Linked DNA regions of Homo sapiens: all the other regions are linked to region 2. Evidence: promoter capture Hi-C in 16 types of primary human blood cells and fetal thymus (Javierre and others, 2016). All regions are on one chromosome and are shown on one strand. The core of a region is centred on a gene start or on the middle of the fragment in contact, and the rest is flanking DNA. Distances in the headings are between cores, read along the strand shown.

Region 1 (2,808 bases), core at 209-2,708, 470 kb before region 2:
AAAAAAAAAAAAAAAAAAAAGATATGTTGTGATATTGTGTTGTGATATATTTTTAAAAAACCATATTTTGGTCTTAGGTTTTCTAGTACATAACTCCTAAAACCCTTGAAATCAGCTGGGCACAGTGGTTTATGCCTGTAATCCCAGCACTTTGGGAGGCCAAGACGGGATGATCCCTTGAGGTCAGGAGTTTTCGAGCAGCCTGGGCAACATAGTGAGACCCCATCTCTACAAAAAAAATTTTTTTAATGAAGACAATAAAAAAAAACTATCTTCTAGATTGTTCAGAGGATTAAATGGGCTGGCCAGGGGTGGGGGCTCACACCTGTCCTCCCAACACTTTGGGAAGCAGAGGTGGGAGGATCACTTGAGCCCAGGTGTTGGAGACCAGCCTGGACAACTTGGTGAAACTCCGTCCCTACAAAAAATACAAAAAATTAGGCCGGGCGCGGTGGCTTATGCCCGTAATTCCAGCACTTTGGGAGGCCTAGGCGGGCGGATCACCTGAGGTCAGGAGTTCGCAACCAGCCTGGCCAACATAGTGAAACCTCGTCTCTACTAAAAATACAAAAAATTAGGCAGGCGTGGTGGCGCACGCCTGTAGTCCTAGCTACATGAGAGGCTGAGGTGAGAGGATCATCTGAGCCCGGGGTCGAGGCTGCAGTGAACCGTGATCACGCCACTGCACTCCAGCCTGGGTGACAAAGTGAGACTCTGTCTAAAAAAATAAAATAAATGAGGTAATGTATACGAATATGATGCACGGAGCGGACCTTCAACAATTATTTTTATTGCTATGATCTGCATAATTGGCACAACAGGGCCCTGCCACATCGAACTGTTTAAGCTCAGAACCGTGTCTGTCACATGTGGAGCGATCCATGATTGATGCTATCATTATCACCACCATCATCCCACCAACCCGCCCATCGGAAACAAGCTTTCATCGAATCCCATCGTTTTTTCCTTTTTTGTAAATCTCTTTCCTCGGCCTGGCTCTGCCGCCCAAGTATGCTCGTCAGGCCTTTGCCCACCTGGACCGGGCGCGGGCAGCCCGGGGCTGAGGATTCTCGAGCCTTGGTGGACCACAGGCTCCCGTCGCCCCGCCCAAGGGCCTGGACCGCCTGTGGTCTCCATGGAAACCCGCCAGCCACAGGGGGCGTGACGCCGTTGAGACAGACAGAGATATTCACCTATCAGATCAAAGTTATCTGGGCAGGGCGAACAAACGGGACCTCCGAGTGGTACGTCCTTAAGGCGGGGCGGGAATACGGCAACGGGCCGCGGGGGCTGTTACTGTCGCTACCAATCAAGAGTCGAGATGGCTTTGATGGACAGGCATAGCGCGAGTGCGGGCTTTCGCCCAACCGGCGGGCCGCTGTCCCGAAAAAGGACCAATGAGGAGGCGGCAGGGGTGGGGCGAAGGGGCCGGTTGCTCCGGAAGTGGAGGGAGGGGGTGAAAATGGCGCCCAGCTCGAAATCGGAGCGGAACAGCGGGGCTGGGAGCGGCGGCGGCGGCCCCGGGGGAGCCGGAGGGAAGCGGGCAGCAGGGCGGCGGCGGGAGCACGTCCTCAAGCAGCTGGAGCGGGTCAAGGTGAGGCCTGGAGCCGGAGTGGGGAGCGCGCCGGAGGGTGGGGAGTAGGGACGAGGGAGGCGGAGGGAGGAGGGCGTTCGCGGGGTGAGGGGTTGGGGGCGGGGCCCCAGGGGAGGGGGCTCGGATGCAGGGCCTGGGCGGGGCCCGGGGGAGATGGCTTGGATGGAGGGGGCTCAGTTGGGGGCCTGGATGCAGGTGGTTGTGTCGGGTGACCGGCAAAGGGGCTGGGATGGAGGGGGTTGGGGGCGGGGCCCCAGGGAGGGGGCTCGGAGGGAGGCGACCCCAGAGGCCGCAGGGAGAATCAGGAGGAAGGGGGCGATCCAGGCTTTTCAAAGCTCTGCTCCCATGGTTGCTCCATAATGGAACCTTCCCGCCCCCTTTGCAGAGCCCCTGCCGCTGGCTTTGGGCTTCCTCCGCCTGATGTTCCTCTCCCTGCCCAAGCCCCGACCACACATGAGCTGGGAGTTCCAGTACCTGGGTGGGCCTCCCCATTGAAAGTGTGGGAGCTCCCTGGATAGGGCTGAGTCTTCCCCCGCAGAGTGAGAGTTACCGAAGCAGGCTCTGTCTCCTCCATCAGACTGGAAACTCCCAGAGCTGGGGGATGATGTCTCTCTCCCCCATCAGTTTGGGAGCTCTGGAGGGCAGAAATGTGGATCTCTTGCAGGTGGGCAGTAACTGGGGCAAGGCTGTGTCTCTGTGGACAGGGACTGCGCCTTCTCCGTGAGGCTGGTAGCTTTGTAAGGGCAGTGCTGTGTCTCCCCCTTTTGACTGGGAGCTCCCTGGGCTGGGACAGTCTCCGCCCTTAGCCTGGGAGCTCCCTGGGCTTGGCTGTGGTTCCGCCCTTAGCTTGGAAGCTCCTTGGGCAGGGACTGTGTCTCCCCTGTCGGCCTGGGCCTGGCTGGCCAGGCTGTTTCCTCCGTCAGACTGAGACCTCCATGTGGACAGGGCTGTCTCCCATCAGACAGGGAGCTTCCCAGACAGGACTCTTCCCATCAGATTGGAATGTCTTGAAGGCAGAGTTGGGTAGCAAGACTGAGGCTGTTCGGATATCCCTGTGCCTGGCTTCTGCCTGTCAGTCCCCGCAGATCCTTCCGCGGTGAAGTTTTGGGGATGAGGGATTCCCTTGGATTCCGTTGGAAGGCGGTAGTTAATTGGGAAGGGGGCGTTGGGTCATTGGTTAGGCTCACCCTTCTATCTGCCTCGACTGGCCCCCA
Region 2 (3,045 bases), core at 546-3,045:
AACGGGTCCAGCACACCAACATGGCACATGTATACATATGTAACAAACCTGCACGTTGTGCACATGTACCCTAAAACTTAAAAAAACTTAAAAAACACATAGCCCAAGGGGCACCTTCTATGTAGCAAAGGCTAAAAAATAAATAAGTAGAAATTAAAAAAAGAAAAAAATTAGCCCGGTGTGGTGGCATGGGCCTGTAGTCCCAGCTACTTGGGAGGCTGTGCCGGGAGGATCGCTTGAGCCAGGAGGTCGAGGCTGCCAGTGATGGCGCCATGGCATTCCAGCCTGGGTGACAGAGGGAGACCCTTTCTCAAGAAAAATAAATTTAAAAAAAGAAATTGGGGCCCAGCGTGGTGGCTCATGCCTGTAATCCCAGCACTTTGGGAGGCGAAGCGGGCGGATCACTTGAAGTCGGGAATTAGAGACAAGCCTGGGCAACATGGTGAAACCCCGTCTCTACTACAAATACAAAAATTAGCCGGATGTGCTTGCTTGAACCCGGAAGACGGAGGCTGCAGTGAGCCGAGATAGTGTCACTGCACTCCAGCCTGGGCGACAGAGCAAGGCTCTGTCTCAAAAAAAAAAAAAAAAAAAAAAAAAGAGAGAGAGAGATAAATAAATTGGGGTGAACCGAATCTGCTAAGATAAAATTTTCGAGAAACCGGGCTGGACAGGATCTAAAGCTCAAAACTGATTAGATCAGGAAAGGATCCGGCGGGGTTTTCCCCGCCCAAAGTGGGTGGCCATGACCGCTAAGGCGCCAGGAGCGCATGAACTTGAAAGGTGACAGCGGGGAACTCACAACCCAGACACGCCACGTGTACCCAGTTACCCTCAAGTGTCCCCAGGCAGGCTTTCCACCCCGGAGTTTATTCCCACCTGGGGACTCCTATTTCCAAAAGAAAATCTTTTTTTCATTCTGTTTTTTTTGAGGCAGAATCTCGCTCTGTCACCCAGGCTGGAGTGCAGTGTCGCGATCTCGGCTCACTGTAACCTCCACCTCCCGGGTTCAAGCGATTCTCGTGCCTCAGCCTCCCGAGTAGCTGGGACCACAGGCGCTCGCCACCACGCTCGGCTGATTTTTTTTTGTATTTTGAGTAGAGACGAGGTTTCACCATGTTGGCCAGGCTGGTCTCGAACTCCTGACCTCAAGTGATCCGCCCTCCTTGGTCTCTCCCAAAGTACTGAGATTACAAGAGCCACCGCGCCCGGCCTTCCAAAATAAAGTCTTATTTGCTCTAAATCTCAGAATCCCGAATCCCGTAAAAAGTAGACCAAGAAGAAGGTAGACTGGGAAAGGGATCAAGTCCCTCGGACCCAAAGAAACCCCTGACAACTGAAAGCTCCAACTTCTCCCACCCAGGCCCCAGACCCCGGCGTCACCCCCTCGTCCCTCTCCAAATGGCCCCAGGCCGCCGCGGGGTCTATTCGGACGAACTGACAGACTCCAAGTGGGGCTCGGAGCGCCGTAGGCCATGACAGCCCCTCCGAGAAGCGGGCCCCGAGCCCCGAGCACCGCGCGCCAACGGCTGGCCCACCCCTAGCGCATGCGCCCCGGTGCCCAACGGCCAACACACAGCGCTCTGACACACCAACCGCCCCGCCCCCACCGTCTCGCGACCCTTTCTCCCCCTCCCCTTAGATCCCAACGTCTCCCCTCGTCCTCTCGCTCTCAGTTCAGACGTCCCCACACCGCGGCCCCGCGCCCGGGATCCGCTGCTCACCTGGCTCCCCGTTCTTCTCCGCGCGCTGCTAAGAGACACTTCCAACTTCGGTTTTCCGCCGGGCGCTCAGACACGAGTTGCTGCGCTTCCTGCCTCTTGCGTCGGGCTGCTGCTCTGCTGACTGGGCCGCTGCCTTTTCATTCAAGAGAGGCCGAAGCGGTGATTGGGTCCTGTGGAAGGGACCGGGAGATTATTGGCGGAGACGGGAAGAAAGAGGGCGTGCCTTACGCCTCGCGTTTATTGGTCAATCTAAAAGTAGGCGCGCCCCAGTGAGCCGACAGACTGGCTCCGACAGCGCGCGGTCTCGTGATCTGGGTGTGGTGCTCGGTGGGAGCCGCCATGTTTAGTACTGATAACTGAAGACCGGATGATTGCGTTTTGGCGTGTGCCCCACCTTTTCGAAGAGTGGCGTCTGCGCTGGGCGCTGAAACCAGAACTGTCCCAGTTGCTATCAATCTGCGGCCTGGGGGTCCTCCACAGTGTAGGCTCTGAAAAGAATAGGGAGCTTGGAATGACTCAAATGGACAGAACATTTTGCAGTATTTGGATTTCTATCGCTCCACGATAGTTTTGTCTCCTTGATTTTCACGTTAGTAGAAGCATGCAATAGGTTGTCTTTTGTGTCTGACTTTTGCTCAACAAAGCTGTTTTTTTGAGACGGAGTCTGGCTCTGTCACCTAGGCTGGAGTGCAGTGGCGCGATCTCTGCTCACCACAACCTCCGCCTCTCGGGTTCAAGCGATTCTCCTGCCTCAGCCTCCTGAGTAGCTGGGACTGCTGGCGCCCGCCACCACACCTGGCTAATTTTCATATTTTTAGTAGAGAGGGGTTTCGCCATGTTGGCCAGGCTGGTCTCGAACTCCTGGCCTCATGTGATCTGCCCATCTCCGCCTCCCAAAGTGCTGGGATTACATGAGCCACCCTGCCTGGCCGCAGCAAAGTGTTTTTGAGAGTTGTCCATGTTGTGGGGATATCAACAGCTCGTTATTTTTTACTGCTGAGTGGTATTTCATTGTGTGGCTATACTATAATGTAGCCAATATAGTTTCACTCACCTGTTCTTGGCCAATTGATTGTTTCCGGTCTTTGGCCACTGTTAATAGAGCTTGTACTGTAAGAGTATTTTGGGGAAGATAAATTTTCATTTCTTTTAAATACTTAGGAGTGGCATGGTGGCATGGTCACTAAGCTTTATTAGATCCTGGCAGATTTATTTTCCTATCATCCTTCCTCCCTCTTTCCCTCCACTTTCTTCTTTCTTTCTTCAGGGTGTCACTCTTGTTACCTATCATGCCCAGCTAATTTTTAAAAATTTGGTAAAG
Region 3 (3,023 bases), core at 65-2,564, 340 kb before region 2:
TTTGGGAGGCCAAAGCAGGTGGATCACGAGGTCAGGAGATCAAGACCATCCTGGCTAATATGGTGAAACCCCATCTCTACTAAAAATACAAAAAAAAAAAAAAAAATTAGCCGGGCGTGGTGGTGGGTGCCTGTAGTCCCAGCTACTCAGGAGGCTGAGGCAGGAGAATGGCGTGAACCCGGGAGGTGGAGGTTGCAATGACCCGAGATTGCACCACTGCACTCTAGCCTGGGTGACAGAACAAGACTCCATATTAAAAAAAAAAAAAAGAAGTGCACTGAGGACCAGACATGGTGACTCATGCCTGTAATTCTAGCACTTTGGGAGGCCAAGGCAGGAGGATTGCTTGATCCCAGGAGTTCAAGACCAGCTTGGGCAACATAGCGAGACACTGCCCCACCCCATCTCTACAAAAAATTAACCGGGTGTGGTGGCATGTGCCTGTGGTCCCAGCTACTCTGGAAGCTTAGCAGGAGATCGCCTGAGCCTGGGAGGTTGAGGCTACAGTGAGCTATGATTGAACCACTGCACTCCAGCCTGGGTGAGAGTGAGATCTGTAACCTAAGAAAAAAAAAAAATTCACTAAGACCAGAAAAGGGGAGACCCAGGAAGTTTAAATTTAAAAATGTTTTCAATTTTGGAGACAAGTCTTGTTCTGTCACGCAGGCTGCAGTGCAGTGGCATGATCACAGCTTACTGTAACCTTGATCTCCTGGGCTCAAGTGATCCTCCTGCCTCAGCCTCCTGAGTAGCTGGGACTACAGGTGTGAACCACCACACCCAACCCAGGAACATTTTAGAATCGCTGTTTCAACTCTTGGCTCTTGAGATCGTGTCACTGCACTCCAGCCTGGGTGACAGAGCGAAACTCTGTCTTAAACAAAAACAAATTCTTGGCTCTGTCCAACTCTGTCTCTTGTATAGGGGCATCAAATGTCTAGTGAAATCCATATGCATAAAATACAGAGAGGTCATGCTGATACAAGGCTGCACCCAAGAGCAGCTCAGCCCATGAAGGGCTCATCAGCTGACCCCATCCTCAGCCCAGTGACCCCATCCTCAGCATACTTCACTGTGACTGTGGGAGCTATGTAGAGAAAGGCGGAGAGAGCCTGGGAAGGTGGAAAATGGAAACACCTAGAGGCTGGTCTTAATTTCCAGCAGGGGAGCCAAGAACTAAGTATGTCATGAGTGGACAGGGGCCGGGCATGGTGGCTCATGCCTGTAATCCCAGCACTTTGGGAGGCCAAGGTGGGTGGATCACCTGAGGTCAGGAGTTTGAGACCAGCCTGGCCAACATGGTGAAAACCCATCTCCACTAAAAATACAAAAATTAGGCCTGGTGCAGTGGCTCATGCCTGTAATCCCAGCACTTTGGGAGGCTAAGGCGAGTGGATCACCTGAGGTCAGGAGTTCGAGATCAGCCTGGCCAACATGGAGAAACCCCATCTCTACTAAAAATCAAGAAATTAGCCAGGCATGGTGGCGCATGCCTGTAGTCCAAGCTACTCAAGAGACTGAGGCAGGAGAATCACTTGAACCCAGGAGGCAGAGGTTGCAGTGAGCCCTGAGATTGCACCACTGTACTCCAGCCTGGGTGACAGAGCGAGACTCCATCTCCAAAAAAAAAAGAGTGGACAGGACTACTTAAGTATAGATGAGGGATTCTCTAACTTTTCTGAATATTAAACTCAACTGAGGCCCCCATATGTCAAGTAAATCAGAATGGGGGAAGGGCTTGACATCAGTATTTTTTGAAGCTCCCAGGTGATTACAATATACAGCTGAGTCTGAGAACCATGAAGTAAATATAAACCAGCAGTTCTCAATGTAGTGGCACCAGGACCAGCAGTATCCGCAATGCTTGGGGAATTGCTAGACATGCGCCTTCCAGGGGCCAGGTGTGGTGGCTCATGCCTATAATCACAGCACTTTGGGAGGCTGAGGTGGGATAATTGCTTGAGTCTGGGAGTTCAAGACCAGTGTGGGCAATATAGCAAGACAAAGTCTCTACCAAAAAAAAAAAAGAGAGAGAGAAAAAAAAGCACTTTCTTGGGTCTCATCCCAGACTTAATGATCAAACTCTCCATGTGATTCTGATGCACACTAGGAAGTTTGAGAATCAAGGGTGTAGAAAGCTGCTCAGCAACAGGACCCAGGAAACAAAGCTTGTTTCCTTCCCCTTCCAGTACTGTACTGTCACCACCCACCCGAAACCCTGTCTTAAGAGACAGTGGATTTGACTTAAAGGAGACCGTCTAGAGCTGCTTGTGGCTAGTCTGAATTGAGATATGTTGTAAATGTGAAATGCTAGATTTCTTTTCCTTTTTTTTTTTTTTTTTTTTTTTGAGATGGAGTCTTGCTCTTGTTGCCCAGGCTGGAGTGCAATGGCACGATCTCGGCTCACTGCAACCTCCATCTCCTGGGCTCAAGCGGTTCTCCTGCCTCAGCCTCCAGAGTAGCTGAGATTACCAGCACCTGCCACCATGCCCGGCTAATTTTTGTAGTTTTAGTAGAGATGGGGTTTCGCCATGTTGGCCAGGCTGGTCTCAAACTCCTGACCTCATGATCTGCCTGCCTCGGCCTCCCAAAGTGCTGGGATTACAGGTGTGAGCCACTGCATCTGGCTTTTTTTTTTTTTTTTCAGATGGAGTCTCGCTCTGTTGCGCAGGCTGGAGTGTAGTGGTGCGATCTCGGCTCACTGCAACCTCCATCTCCCAGATTTAAGCGAGTCTCCTGGCTCAGCCTCTTGAATAGCTGGGATCACAGGCGCCCACCACCACACCCACCTTTTTTTTTTTTGTTTTTTTTTTTTGCATTTTTAGTAGAGACAGGATTTTGCCATGTTGGCCAGGCTGGTCTCGAACTCGTGACCTCAAGTGACCCACCTGTCTCGGCCTCCCAAAGTGCTGGGATTATGGGCATGAGCCACCATGTCCGGCCAAGATTTCTAAGACAGTACAAAAAAGGAAAATACCTCAATAATTTTTTTACATGGATTATACATTGAAATAATATTTTGG

Evidence for each region. Contacts are between HindIII fragments. The CHiCAGO score rates a contact against its expected background, and 5 or more counts as called.
Region 1: a contact is called between the fragment with the promoter of DCAF15 here and the fragment with the promoter of DDX39A in region 2, in 3 of 17 cell types (naive CD4 T cells, naive CD8 T cells and non-activated CD4 T cells). The highest score is 7.6, in naive CD4 T cells.
Region 3: a contact is called between a fragment that was not itself captured here and the fragment with the promoter of DDX39A in region 2, in 12 of 17 cell types (total CD8 T cells, naive CD8 T cells, M0 macrophages and 9 more). The highest score is 10.5, in total CD8 T cells.

The regions. Positions count from the first base shown.
Region 1 is chr19:13,951,051-13,953,858 of GRCh38, forward strand. It overlaps DCAF15 (DDB1 and CUL4 associated factor 15), which reads left to right and starts at 1,459. Exons shown (of 13, transcript NM_138353.4): 1 at 1,459-1,594. The coding sequence starts at 1,463. It also overlaps a transcript of PODNL1 not described here. RefSeq lists an enhancer at 832-881 and a silencer at 1,542-1,681. The HindIII fragment of the contact is 10,644 bases long and covers 939-2,808 here.
Region 2 is chr19:14,417,546-14,420,590 of GRCh38, forward strand. It overlaps DDX39A (DExD-box helicase 39A), which reads right to left and starts at 1,796. Exons shown (of 11, transcript NM_005804.4): 1 at 1,725-1,796. RefSeq lists enhancers at 376-425, 796-855, 1,266-1,405 and a silencer at 1,526-1,625. The HindIII fragment of the contact is 5,494 bases long and covers 1-2,910 here.
Region 3 is chr19:14,076,470-14,079,492 of GRCh38, forward strand. No RefSeq gene overlaps it. Among named protein-coding and RNA genes, the nearest start is that of MIR1199, 4.6 kb to the left of the region's middle. The HindIII fragment of the contact is 1,703 bases long and covers 464-2,166 here.